Regions from separate parts of the Homo sapiens genome. Here all the other regions are linked to region 4. The links are contacts of gene promoters, found by promoter capture Hi-C in blood cells and fetal thymus (Javierre and others, 2016). All regions are on one chromosome and are shown on one strand. Each heading gives the region's core, a stretch centred on a gene start or on the middle of the fragment in contact. The rest is flanking DNA. Distances are from core to core; before and after follow the strand shown.

Region 1 (2,700 bases), core at 79-2,578, 69 kb after region 4:
AGTGCAGTGGCACAATCTCAGCTCACTGCAATCTCCACCTCCTGGGTTCAAGCAATTCTCCTGCCTCAGCCTCCTGAGTAGCTGGGATTACAGGCACATGCCACCATGCCTGGCTAATTTTTGTAGTTTTTTAAGTAGAGAAGGGGTTTCACCATGTTGGCCAGGTTGGTCTCAAATTCCTGACCTTGTGATCCGCCCGCCTCAGCCTCCCAAGGTGCTGGGATTACAGGCATGAGGCAAGATGTAACTACTTTTCTAATAAGACTTCTGACCAGAGTGAGTCAGGAGATAATTGATGAGCTGAATGGATTTTCTGAGTCTTATGCACAATTGCAGTGGCCGTGACCTAAAAGACAATGTCGCATTGTACTTATTTAATTTAGAGGAGGGACTCTGGTTAGATTGGGTTTTTGATGTGGGATTTGTTGTCCCTTGAAGAGAAACAGAAGGCAGACACTCATGGTCTGATGAGGAAGCCAGGATGAGAGGCTTGACAACCATCTGCAGGAAAAAGACAGCCCCACCGGTAATACCAGAGAGTTGCCAAAGGCTCCCAGGAGCGCAACCTGGGGCGTCTTGGTAGTTAACTGTCACTTTATACTGCATTGTCAGTGCTTCAAAAACTAAACTAATTGCACACTTGGTGAGAGGTCATGTTGAGAGTCAACAATAATTGTGATTGACTATAGCAGTGGTTGTCAAACTATGGCCAGGTCTGGCTCGAGACCTGTTTTTGTGTGTCCCATACATTTTTAAACTGTTGTGAAGAGAAGAAGAAAGAGAAGGAGGAGGAAGAAGAGAAGGGGAAGGGCATGGAGGAAGAGAAGGAGGAGGAGGAGGGGGAGGAGGAGGAAGAGGAGGAGGAAGCTGCAACCAAGACCATATGTGACCCACAAAACCTAAAATATGTACCCTCTGACCCTTTAAAAAAGGCTTAGTAACTCCTGGTGTATAGTCTTACTGTGTATTTCCCATTGCCAGGTAGAATACCAGCCTAAAATAATATCTTAGAGCCTTTCAAGAAACCACACATTCCAAATGGCTTTGGCTGAAAAAAATTTCAGAGACAGAAAATCTGATCCTTACACCCCAGACTTCCTTTTTCTACCTTAGACACTCAGTTCTCCAACCAGAGACATTTGGAACAAAGGAGAAATGAAAGCACAAAGGCGTTTCTGAGGAGAGGGAGGAAGAATCAGATTGGAATGAATGTGTATGTTAGCAAAAGGGGACACGTAGAAAACAGGGCTGAAATGCAAGAAGTGGCGGTTCTGGCTCCATGTCAGCCATGCAGATGGATTTCAAAACAGTGGAGCAACCATTACGGTGCTTTTCCTGACTTTCCCATGCTCATTAGGATGAGCTGAGTTGGAAGCCTGGTGGGTGGAATCTGGATGTGTAGAAATAAGCAATAAATAATAACAATATGAGGAGGAGGAAGAGGGAAACAGGAAGGAAATGAAAAAGAGAAGAATATGAAGTAAACGAAAATAATGATGAAGGTAAAAAGATGAGGCAAAAGAAAATGAAGATTGCCTGGTGCGGTGGCTCATGCCTGTAATCCCAGCACTTTGGGAGGCCGAGGCGGGCAGATCACAAGGTCAGGAGATCGAGACCATCCTGGCTAACACGGTGAAATGCCGTCTCTACTAAAAATACAAAATATTAGTCGGGCATGGTGGCGGGCGCCTGTAGTCCCAGCTACTCGGGAGGCTGAGGCAGGAGAATGGCAGGAACCCGGGAGGCGGAGCTTGCAGTGAGCCAAGTGAGCCGAGATCGGGCCACTGCACTCCAGCCCGGGCGACAGAGCAAGACTCCGTCTCAAAACAAAAAAAGAAAGAAAGAAAATGAAGATAAAGGTGAAGAAGAAAAAATAAAATAGATGATGATGAAGAAGATTTTTTGAGTACTTAAGTGTCAAGCAAATGGCTAAAGTCCTTACAGGTATTATTTTGTTTAATGTTCACAATAACTTTATGAAATAGGTATTTATGATTGTACTCATTCGACAGCTATAGTAACTGAGGCATAGAGGATTAACTTGCCTAGAGTCACACAGAAAGCAAGTGATCAACCTGGAATTTGAATCCGGACAGTCTGATTACAGAGTTCATATTCTTAATCATTAAACTCTTTGGTCTTTACCAAGAGAAGGGTATTGGAATCAGCCACACAGGGACACAGATAGCATTTGAAGTCAAGGTTTGGGGGCTTTCCTGTTGTTTTCTCTTCCAGAGCTCACATCCAGACTCAAGGTGGTAGATTTAAGTGCCTTGTCAGGGGAAGGCTCCCCTCTGCCTCCATTTACAAATGTTTCCTTCTTGTTTTCTGTCACCGCGGAGAGCAGTGTGGCCAGGAGCCCTCTTCATACCTTTTCTTCTCGTGTGTCCTCACCCTCCTTGCATCCTTTCTGCCTCTCAGTTCCTGGCTATTGCAGCTTTTCTGGGCTCCCTTGTAACATGAAGGATTTCGTTTTTAAGGATCTCTTTACTTGTTTGATTCGTTGATTCCCAGCTTTCCTGGAAAGACTCATGGGGCAAAGTCTCCCTGGCCTGGCAGTTATTACACTGTAAAAGTTTGTCCTGTAGGTCAACCCTGCAAATAAGTTTGAGGTGCCTCACATAAAATCAGAGAGAGCCCCTTAAAGGAAATCAAGTCAGGGAAACCAGCAGGGAAGGCCAAGGCTCACCAGCAAATGTT
Region 2 (2,700 bases), core at 16-2,515, 110 kb before region 4:
TAAATGAATTGTCACTATTGATTATATTTGACATTAGAAGTTAACAAGATTATTCTGCCAGACATTCATCCTCCCTTGTTCTACATCACCATTTCATTTGAGAAGAAGGGACAATGGCTTTCACATAAGGCAGCAAAGGGTAGTGTTACAAATGTGGATTACAGTACAGACTACATGGGTTCAAATCCTGATTCTGTTGCTTATGATAGACCTCAGGCAGTTTACTCAACTCCTCTGTGTCTCAGTTTCCTGAACCACAGAATGGAAATGCTACTAGTACTTCCTCCAGATGGTTCTTATGAGGATTAAATGAGGTATGACAAAAACTGAGCTTAGAAGGGTGCCTGGCACACAGATAGGGCTCAATAACTGTGAGCTATTATTGTGTTCAGAGATCCCCAAATATTTTGAAAAAGAGGCTTAATTGTCCCACTGCTTTAAAGTTTTGAAACTTCTAAGACTGGGGGATGTCAGAAATCAAGGCTCAAAGTGTAGGAAGTGAGATCCGTGCAAACTCAGCTAAACTCTAACATGCTCATGTCTACACGATTGATGAGTGGTATTAATTATGTCTCTCAGAGTTCATTTCAGCCTGCAACAAAGCTTAGACCTAAGAGATGCATTTAACGTAGAATTTCAATCTCTCTAAGGCAGGCGGGGAGAGCCTTTAAGAGCCTAGGAAACCATGCCCCACTGGTGAGAGTTTACTCTGCCTACTTGTACAAATCCAACTATTTGTCTTGTCAGAGTTAAGTTCTACTGAAAAATAGACCTCTGTCTCTCTCTCCCTAAGGGTTCTCTGATTCTGAATTTGTTCTCTGAAAGTTTAGGTCTGAGTGTGAACATAAAACATCTGGAAAAAGAAAGTGGAAAAGGAAAAGTAAACCCTTTCATGACTCAATTTTTTTTTTTGGTATTATTTAAAGACACACAAAGCCTAGAGAAGCTCCTGAGAGATGCTGTCATCTATGGCCAGCCTCGAACCCGCAGAGCTTGGAAAAAGATTCTCATCCTGGTGGAGGGTGTCTACAGGTATGTAAATAACAGGACACATTTTACGACTCGGAGGCCTGCAGCAAGCTGACCAGTGCGGAAAGGCTCACCTTTCCTAGCTAAACAGAGAAATGACTTAGAATTGGTTATATGACACAGGGACCTGAGACAGAGCCACCAATGGGAGCTGTCAGACGTGGGTTATCTGTCTTTTTGATGACTCTATATATGGCACAGCAGCTTGGAGGCTGGCCGGCTTGTGAAGGCTTCCTCAGAAATATCCTCTCAAGGCATTGCTAACTTGAGTTGATCTTTCCACTACCTTTGACTGCCCCAGAGTTTCAAAGGCGTTTCGCAGCTGGGTTATTCAAGATCAAAACACTCCTTGCCTTTATGACTGGTAGAAATTGTTGATGGGTGGCCCGGATGCCCCTACCTGGACAGCACGCCCAACCCCCAGCTGCTTGCTGAACTTTGTTAGTGATTGCCATCAATACAAAAGATCTGCCTGTTTTCCCCAAGGTAGGAGTAACCTGGGGTGCAATTCTTGTTCCAGAGCCAGCGGGTAGGAATGGGCTGATGTCTAGTCCATAAGCCAAGGAGACATTATTTCAGAGTGCCCAATCCTGAATCAATTCTCAAACAATCCTGACGTTAGGCAAATTGAGGGGGATATCTCCTATAATGATAGAAAAGTGAAAAATATTAAAAGGAAGGAAGTGAAGGCTGTTCAACTTTAAGACAAGGAGGAGTGTGGCTACAAAGGAGACTTGAGGATAGACATAGGATTTCTTTCAGCCCGCTAATCTCATTAGTCCCTGAGTGCACATTTTTTCTGCTGCATGAGTGGATAATGAGCAGCAGCAGAAGTGTGCCTTTATTCCTTTTAAGAAAAAAAAAGTGAATTCTCCCAACTCTAAAATAATAATAATAAGAAGCTTGGTTTCATTTTATTTTTAACATTTTTAACTCCAGTACTTCTGCCCCCATGGTTAGGGTTCTGGATGTTCCCAGTCCTACTGTGGGAAATGCAAAGTTTGCATTTCCAGTTTCTACCAGCTCACTTTCTGCATCACCTACCATTACCTCCTCCAGCCAGCCCAGAGAGTATGTACTGTTGATGAAGTCTTTGGGAGCACTCTAGACATAGTAGTTCTCCAGGGTGAGCTTGTCCTTGCCCCAGCCTAGGCACATTTGGCGATTTTCAGTCATTATAACTGCAGTAGTGTGTGACTGGCATATGGTGGACAGAGGCCAGGGATGCTGCCAAGCATCCTACGATGCATGGGACAGCCCCTACAACACAGAGTTATCTAGCTCAAAATGTCGATAGTGCTAAGGCTGAGAAAACCTGTTCTGGTATAACTGACAACTCGTAGGCCTTAACTTGCAATTTTAAGAAATAATCTCATATTGACTCTGGGCTGTCATAACCTCAAGCATGGATCTTTTTCCCTGTGTGATTTGTGCCTGCTGCCAGCCTGGGAGGGGAGCAAATAGCCCTTATCTAAACACCTGTCATTCAGGCCTAGATTCGTGGGAACACAGATCAGCTGAGAGAGAGCAGACTGGGCATCTCCTTTAAGCAGAGTAAACAAAACCCAACTGCAAATAAATAGAACTTGGCTCCAGTAAATGAAAGTTAGGTCTTAACCATTTTGATCATGGCTGAAATTAAGTAGACAACTGGCATTTTACTGGCAAATA
Region 3 (2,700 bases), core at 125-2,624, 93 kb before region 4:
AAAACTTTCTAATTTACCTCATTGTGAACAGCAAATTTCGATAATTTTGTGTGATCAATTCTGTTGAAATTAAGCAAATATTGTTTGTGTGCGTGTGTGTGCGCGCACGTGAGCGTGCACATGTTTGCCTGTGCTTGCTTGGGGCTGTCACTTGTGTTTCCCTAAGACCAAAGTAGCCAATTTAATATCCAATTTTTCAATCCTTTTATTTTTTATAGCCAGAGGTTGGACAGTGGAAGGCCACCACTGGCCATTGAGGATATATAGACAAAACACACACAATAAGCTTCCAGCCATTTCTTTGTCAGTGGGACCAGAGCTAAACTGTGCTACTTTGCTCAACCCAAATTAATCCTCTTTTTGAAAAATTGTTTCATAAAAGCCTCTTGGAACTCTCCCTCCATCTTGCAGAGATGGTTTATACAGATTCTACCACATGTCACACACCAGAGGGGATACGGTGCTGAATAAGGCAGTTCTTGCTGCCAGGCAAACTGGTGAGCACATTTATGGAAGTAGCAATTTATCCTGGCCACTGGACTGTACAATCTATGTGCCTCACCCCACCTCCCAGCTGACCTGAAGTCCTACATTGTTTAATGCAATGCTTCAAGCCTGCTATTTCAGTAGAAGTATGGGGTACTCCATCAGTTTTCAATATTATTAAAGCAGCAGAATATTCACATACAAATTTTGCTAGAAGCCTACTATATAAAACAGATAAGAACAAGGCTGATCTAGTTAAAGTAGTGTCTTCACTTACCCCCATACTGATACCCCCTGGGGCCCTTCTACTGAGCCCTAGTGCTCCCCAAGACACTTGTTTGAAAGACAAGACTTTTTCTTTTTCACTAAAGCAGGGTAAAGGCCTGCAGGAGGATATTTTTTCCTCCATATGAAATGCGGTGATTGGCTGATCTCTAGGATCCCTTCCAGGCTTGCCTTTTCGGTGTTATGACTCTGCATCCTATTGGTTGGTCTTTGTGAAAAGAAAACGACAGTCCAGTCTAGGAAGCCCTTATGGTATGAGACTGAAGGTAGCTGCCTGAATCTGCTCCTGTGATACTATTCACTCGTATGTGGCCTTAGATGAGTGACTTATCTATTCAACCCTGAGCAAGTTACTCAACTTCTCTGTACTTCAATTCATCCAGTTATGAAGTGAGAAAAACAATATTTATGAGCCAAGGTTTTTGTGAGAAGTAGGCAAATTAATCTGTACAAAATATTTAACATTGTGTCTGGAGACAAGTATCAGTAAGCATTGTATAATTGCTTGCTACTATTATTTGCTGTTGTTTCTGAGGTGATCGACAAGTATTTGAAGCATTTCTCAGAGATGCTGTAGGAAGCATCCTTATGACAGAAGTGAAGTAGGACTAGATGTCCTCTAAGATCCTGGATTAGTCAGGATAAGGGAGGTTTTGCCACCATAACAAATAAACCCTGTAGATCTCAGTGGCTTAACAGAACCAAGGTATTTCTTGTTTGCATCACATCTAATACCAATCAGTCAACTCTCTACACAGTGCTTGTCCTTGAAGACAGTGACTCAGGCTGCTTTCACCTTAAGGGTTCATCATCTCAACACATGGCCCCCATGGTTACCAAGGTAAAAAGAAAGAGAGGGTCAGCCTAGAGGTGACTCTTATCACCTTGCTTACAATTATTGGCTAAAACTAGTCATATGGCCACACCCCTGAAAAGAGGTAGGGGTAAATTAAGGGATACAGACATTGGATAAACAGGTACCTTTTATTTTGGAGGGGGAGGAGGTTCTTTTTTGTTTTTTGGGTTTTTTTAAAATTTGAGACAGAGTCTTGCTCTGTCACCCAGGCTGAAGGGCAGTGACATGATCTTGGCTCACTACAACCTCCACCTCCCAGACTCAAGTGATTCTCCTGCCTTAGCCTCCTGAGTAGTCAGGACTACAGGTGTGCACCAACAGGCATGCACCACCATGCCCAGCTAATTTTTTTTTTTTTTTTTTTTTGGAGACAGAGTTTCGCTCTTGTCACCCAAGCTGGAGTACAATGGTGCGATCTCAGCTCACTGCAACCTCCGCCTCCTGGGTTCAAGCAATACTCCTGCCTCAGCCTCCCGAGTAGCTGGGATTACAGGTGTCCCCCACCATGCCTGGCTATTTTTGTATTTTTAGTAGAGATGGGGTCTCGCCAGATTGGTCTCAAACTCCTGACCTCGGGTGATCTGCCTGCCTCGGCCTCCCAAAGCACTGGGATTACAGGCACGAGCCACCACACCTGGCCAATTTTTGTATTTGTAGTCGAGACGGGGTTTCACCACGTTGGCCATGCTGGTCGGGAACACCTGGCCTCAAGTGATTTGCCCACCCCAGGCTCCTAAAGTGCTGGGATTACAGGCGTGAGCCACTGTGCCTGTCTTAAACAGGTATCTTTTAACCTTTTAACATTGAAGCGAGATAGAGTGGCATCTTTTCCTCCACAAGCTTTCTGCTGTATGAAAAACTGTTCTGGAACTACTGGCTTCCCACAAAGCCATATTAATTCTCTTCTTAAACTTCAAGTGTTTCTTAATGGAAAATCAATTATTTGAGATTTAAGCAAAAATGCAAGTTAACTGAATTGTCTCAGAATGACTAGAATTATTCTTTGGTCTTGTTTTAAAGACAAGTGACTAGGAAAAAGTTATTCTAGAAATTAGCTTGTGTCTCAACAAAAA
Region 4 (2,700 bases), core at 166-2,665:
ACTTGGTTGAGATGCCTTGCGAGAACTCGAAAGCAGTTGAATTAAGAATCTTAAATCTTTCTAGGACGCGGAGAAGGAAGGTAGGAAATTGGGGAGGGGGAAAGGGAGGCGTGCCGTCAAGAAAGAGTTGATTATTTATTTAATTTCATTCACCAAGGGAGAATTCGGAGGCTCCATCCCGGAGGCACTGGGGTCCGGGACGCGGGAAAGGCTTGGAAATGTGCGACGCGGCTGTGTGCGAACGCGTGGACTAGGTCTTGGCTCGCTGGGAGGGAAGGGCTGGGCCGGCGCTGGGGAGGAGGAAGGGAGGGAACGGGTAGGAGGAGGGGAAGCGCAGTATAAAAGTCCCGGCCGGACTGAGCGTCCGCTACTCCGAGTCACTTCGGTAAGGCGGGAGCCCGAGCAAGGTCAAGGAGGGAAGTGCGCGGTGCCACGGACCGACACAGTTCGCTCTAGCATCTGACGCTCGGACTCCGCGCCCTCAGCCGGATCCCAGAGCCCTTCCATTCGCCAACCGCCCACTGCAAGGCATGAGCCGCACGCGGGAGCCCGAGGCTGCAGCGCGGTCATGAGGCGGTGGCCCGGGATCGACAGCTGCGCGACGCCAGCCCCCAAATCCCCTCTGGGCGCGGCACCCCCGGGATGAGCCCCCCACAGAGGCAAGCCCACTAGAGCTGAGATTCACTCCGAGTTCCTGAGCGCCTGAGCCGCGGGCACTGCGTCTCTGCAGCTTCCAGCCAACACCTGCGCCCGTGACCAGACGAACGCCTAGAGAGTCGGACTCCCCTCCCTTCCCAGGCTCTACGGGGCGCCGCGGATCCGCGAACAGCCGTGCCCGGCTAGCGGGCGGCCCAGCAAGTGTCAAGACCCTTCGGAACGACACTTTGGCACTCCTCCTCTCCCCCGACTGCTTCAGGCAGGGGTCGCAGGCAGACGCATGGCTTGTCCGGCGCCCCCTCCGTTTTCCATCACTGCAACTCCAGCTCCAGTTTGCCAATAAAGGTTTCTAAAGCAGCCCAGGCACCACCCCACCCACCCACAGCCCCGAGCCTCAGTGTGCACAAGGGCTCTACCCGCGCCCGTCACAGCGACCTCGGCAGCGGGCACTTGGTACAGCCCGGCAGGCTGACGCTGCCGCCGAGGGCGCCCCGGCTACCGCCAAACCGTGACAACCTCGGTGTGCCCGGGGCCCCCATCTGGAACCGGCCCTCCCCGGGACTCCGAGTGCGGGGCGGCGCGGCAGGCGGCCCCGAGGAGCGCGGAGAGTAGTGGAGGTGGCTTGCCGGGTGAGTGGCTCGGGGCGGCGAGGGCGGGGGCGCCAAGCGTGGAGGTAACTCCCGGCCGCAGCTGAAGCCCTCCTACTCCTCCTCCTCCTCCTCCTCCTCCTCCTCCTCCTCCTCCTCCTTCTCCTTCTCCTCCTCCTCCTCCCCGCGCTTCTCTGGCGGCCGCTCCCGCTCCAGCTGCGGCGCCGCGGCCACATCTGGGGCGCCCATGTGCGCTCGGGGGCTCGGCTGCGCCCGCCCCGCCGCCGACCCCGCAGCCCCCTGCCAGCAGGGTGGCCTCCGGCCCGGCCCGGGTCCCGGGCTGTCCCGGGACCCAGTCTCCGTCTCCGCCGCCGCCGCCGCCAGGCAGCGCCGGGGCTTGCTCCGCAGCCGGCTTGGACACCCCCGGCCTCGCGGTGGCTCCGCCGTGGTGCGGCGGCGGCGGCGGCGGCGGCGCCGGCAGCTCCTGCTCCCCCGGCCCCGCACACCCCGCCGCGCCCAGCGCCAGCCCCGCGGGCCCGGGAAGCGGAGCCCTGGCGGGAGCCGAGGCGGGAGCCGCGCTGCCGGGCTCCCGGGCTCCTACTCCTCCTCCCCCGGCGTCACCGCCGCCGCCGCCGGCCGCCGCGCCGGGTCCTAAAGCCGCGCGTCTCAAAAGGATGGTGCGCCTGGCGGCCGAGCTGCTGCTGCTGCTGGGGCTGCTGCTGCTCACGCTGCACATCACCGTGCTGCGCGGCTCGGGAGCCGCCGACGGGCCCGACGCGGCCGCGGGCAACGCCAGCCAAGCCCAGCTGCAGGTGAGTGCGCCGCCGGAGAGGGCCGTGCGCGGCTGCGGGGACGGTTTGTGGGGCGGGGGTGCTGAGCTAGTGCCGGGTGGATGCAGGGAGGCAGGTCCCCTGCCCCACCTAAGAGCAACTGTTTTGGCAGTAGTTTTGCCCGGGCCACTTGACTTAGGCAGAGGCGGAGCGGGGGCACGTGCCTGGAGGCTGCACCCGGCTTCCAGGTCTGCGGGCTGCGCTCCTTCAGTTCTGTCTGTCACGGGTCAGGTGCGGGGTTGGTGGGGAGGTGGGAAGGAGCGAGGTTTGGGATGAGCAGAGGAAGTGTGGAGAATGTGCTTGCTTGGGGGTGCTACCAGTCTTTCGTTGCCCTTCGGAGGCTGAGTAATGTTACTCGAGGCTGGAGGGACGCAAGGAGACTTTATAGGATGATATCCCTGAAGTCTTTGGGAGAAAGAACTCCGGGAGTCTACCCCTTTAGGAAGCAATGCCAAAGGTCAGGACATAATTTCCCAAGGAGAATAGCCAGGCATCCCCTCCTCACCCTCAGGGTTCCCTTGCTTCCAGTGTTCCTCTTCCTCCGGGAGCCTCGCCTGAGGTTCCCCCCTCCCCCCTTGTGCCCCCTTGGTCATGGGGAAGGTGCAGAGTGAAGGCACCGGTAGTGA
Region 5 (2,700 bases), core at 101-2,600, 87 kb after region 4:
TCTGTGTTTCAGGAAAAAGACCACATTTGAATCCCTCTTGAGGGCTCCCTCCTGCTATTACAGGATATTGGAGGGAGAGAGAAAGAACAAAAGCAGCTGATCCAGTGCCAGAAAGATAAAGGCTTGTTCACACTACTCACCAGCAGCAAATGTATAAAGCTGAAGCTTAACATCAAACTCACTTTCTGTTCCACTCTTCACTATGTCTACACAGCACCATTCCAGTCAACCTCCCCACAGCATTCCTCCCATCCCCTCGGCCACACATTTGACCCTCTTATAGCCAATTGGCCATCCTTTGGGCCAGTCTTTTTCAAAATACTTTTGGAACATTTTATGGAAGTAGTACATACATTCAGAAAAGCACACACGTATCATAAGTTCACGGCTCAATGAATTTTCACAAAGTGAATACACCCATGTCACCAACATCCATACCAACACCAAGAAAAAACAGAATATAAGGCTCATGAAGGAGCTCTCTGGGGCTACAGAAATGTTCTATATATTGTGTGGTTTGATTGTCAAAACTCACTGAAGTGTACACTTTTTAAAAACTGAATTTCTTTGTATGTAAATTTTACCACAACACAAAATAAATAAGGCAAAACCAGCACTCCCATGCCCCCGTCCAGTAACGGGCACTCACTCCTCACCAAGAATAATCAGTATCATGAATTTTACACCAGATTAGTTTTGTCTGATTTTGACCTTCGGGTAAATGGAATCGTACAGCACCCGCTCTGTGAGGTCTGGCATATTTTGCTCAATATTGGATTGTGAAATTCTTCCATATCGCTGCTTGCAGCTAAAGGTCATTCATGCTTATCACATTTCCAATGTGTGAATATATCACAATTTTATTTAACAGTTCTACCATGGAGGAACATTTGGATTGTTTCTAGATTGGGGCTTTCACAAAGAGTGCTACTATGGACAGTCCAGGGTGTGCTTTTGGGTGTGCGTATTCACACATTTCCATGGGGAGTGGAATTAGAAGGTCATAGGGCATGCACAGCTTTAGTTGATACTGCCCAGTAGTTTTCCAAAGTGGTTGTCCTGGTGGACACTCCGTTTAGGAGTGTTTGAAAGTTCCCATTCTTTAGCCAATCTCAATTTCACCCCCTTCACTGTCTTTCCTGACTACTCCACTCTGTGATCTCTTAATTATTTATGTTTAACTCAATACGTGCATACTGAGCCCCATTCACTGTGCTGCGTGCTGGGGACACAAAAAGGAATAGACAGGAATCCATCATCAATGAATGAATGGCCCAGTGGGGGTGTCTGTAACACAGTGTGAATCTGATGTAACTCAGATGCTTGTAATACAATGTAAATGGTACCATGGGACCAAATGAGGGTGTGATTAATTATGGCAGTAATAACTAGTGAGCCAGAATTTATACATTATTATTTAGGAAAATAAACCCAATGATTCCAAGTCTTGGCAAGGCGATGAGGAAACAGAAACTCTTACCATCACCGCTTATGGTGTTATGAATTGAACAGTACTTTGCCTATATCTAGTAAGTTGAATCTGCCACATAGCTGGATGCATCAGTTTCACTCCTGAGGGCCTGTTTTTGTATTGTCAAAAAGTGGAAACAGTTTAAATTGTCCACCAACAGAGGAACAGACAAATCAACCATGTTAAGTTCATAATAGAGAATACAATCCAGCTGTTAAATGATCTAGGCTATTCGTATTGTCAAAAATGTGTCTATACTGTCTGAAAAAGAAAATTACAGATGGATGCATGTTAGGTACAGAACATTTGTGTTCCCCCAAAATTTAAATGTTGAAATCCTAACCCCCAAAGTTATGATATTCGGAGGTGCAGCTTATGGGAGGTTATTAGGTCATGAGGGTGGAACCCACATGAATGAGATTAGCATCCTTACAAAAGGGACCCCGAGAGAGCTCTCTTGCCCTCTTTCCACCATGTAAGCACAAAATGAGAGGTCAGCAGTCTATAAACCAGAAGAGGACTCTCAGCAAAATCTGGCCATGCTAGCACCTTGATCTCAGACTTCCAGCCTCCAGAAATGTGAGAAATACATTTCTGTTGTTTATAGGCCACTCAGTCTATGGTAGTTTGTTGTATCAGCCTGAACTGACTAAGACAGTATATGAAAGTAGTATACAATTTTAATAATTTAAAACTCACAATGCAAGGCTACATTATATCTGGACACCAACATACATAATAAAAATACTAAACTATGCATGGGAAGACTAAGCACCAACTTCAAGACAATAGTTACCTCTGAGATGAATGACAGTGAGTGGGTGGAGGAGGGGATACTTTAGAGGTAACATTTTATTTCTTTAAAAAAAAAAAGCCTAACAGAATAAAGGACAAAACATTTTATGCTCATCTCAAGAGATGAAGAGAGTATTTGACAAAATTGAATATTATTTCATAATAAAAACTCTCAATGAATTAGGTGTAGAAGAAATGCACCTCAACACAATCAAGACCATATAGCACAAGCCCACAGCTAACATCATACTCATCAGTGAAAAGTTCATTAAAGCTTTTAACCATCAGTGAAAAGCTTTTCCTCCAAGATCAGGAACAAGACAAGCATGCTCACTCTTACTGCTTATATTCAGCACAGTTCTGGAAATCTTAGCCAGAACAAGTAGGCAAGAAAAAGAAATAAAAGGCATCTAAATCAGAAGACAGGAAGTGAA

What was found. Contacts are between HindIII fragments. The CHiCAGO score rates a contact against its expected background, and 5 or more counts as called.
Region 1: a contact is called between a fragment that was not itself captured here and the fragment with the promoter of ISM1 in region 4, in 1 of 17 cell types (naive CD4 T cells). The highest score is 5.2, in naive CD4 T cells.
Region 2: a fragment that was not itself captured here is called in contact with the fragment with the promoter of ISM1 in region 4 in 2 of 17 cell types (naive CD4 T cells and non-activated CD4 T cells); the score reaches 6.7 in naive CD4 T cells.
Region 3: a contact is called between a fragment that was not itself captured here and the fragment with the promoter of ISM1 in region 4, in 1 of 17 cell types (naive CD4 T cells). The highest score is 7.2, in naive CD4 T cells.
Region 5: a contact is called between a fragment that was not itself captured here and the fragment with the promoter of ISM1 in region 4, in 1 of 17 cell types (naive CD4 T cells). The highest score is 5.2, in naive CD4 T cells.

The regions. Positions count from the first base shown.
Region 1 is chr20:13,288,835-13,291,534 of GRCh38, forward strand. All of the region lies in intron 4 of ISM1 (isthmin 1), which reads left to right. It also overlaps a transcript of TASP1 not described here. Among named protein-coding and RNA genes, the nearest start is that of ISM1-AS1, 50 kb to the left of the region's middle. The HindIII fragment of the contact is 2,878 bases long and covers 1-2,700 here.
Region 2 is chr20:13,109,186-13,111,885 of GRCh38, forward strand. SPTLC3 (serine palmitoyltransferase long chain base subunit 3) reads left to right here. Exons shown (of 12, transcript NM_018327.4): 7 at 927-1,032. It also overlaps a transcript of TASP1 not described here. Among named protein-coding and RNA genes, the nearest start is that of SPTLC3, 100 kb to the left of the region's middle. The HindIII fragment of the contact is 1,328 bases long and covers 602-1,929 here.
Region 3 is chr20:13,126,900-13,129,599 of GRCh38, forward strand. All of the region lies in intron 9 of SPTLC3 (serine palmitoyltransferase long chain base subunit 3), which reads left to right. It also overlaps a transcript of TASP1 not described here. Among named protein-coding and RNA genes, the nearest start is that of ISM1, 93 kb to the right of the region's middle. The HindIII fragment of the contact is 2,181 bases long and covers 285-2,465 here.
Region 4 is chr20:13,219,859-13,222,558 of GRCh38, forward strand. ISM1 (isthmin 1) reads left to right here and starts at 1,416. Exons shown (of 6, transcript NM_080826.2): 1 at 1,416-2,056. The coding sequence starts at 1,919. It also overlaps a transcript of TASP1 not described here. RefSeq lists silencers at 1,199-1,318, 1,778-1,847. The HindIII fragment of the contact is 8,964 bases long and covers 1-2,700 here.
Region 5 is chr20:13,306,954-13,309,653 of GRCh38, forward strand. It overlaps a transcript of TASP1 not described here and a transcript of ISM1 not described here. Among named protein-coding and RNA genes, the nearest start is that of ISM1-AS1, 69 kb to the left of the region's middle. The HindIII fragment of the contact is 2,375 bases long and covers 164-2,538 here.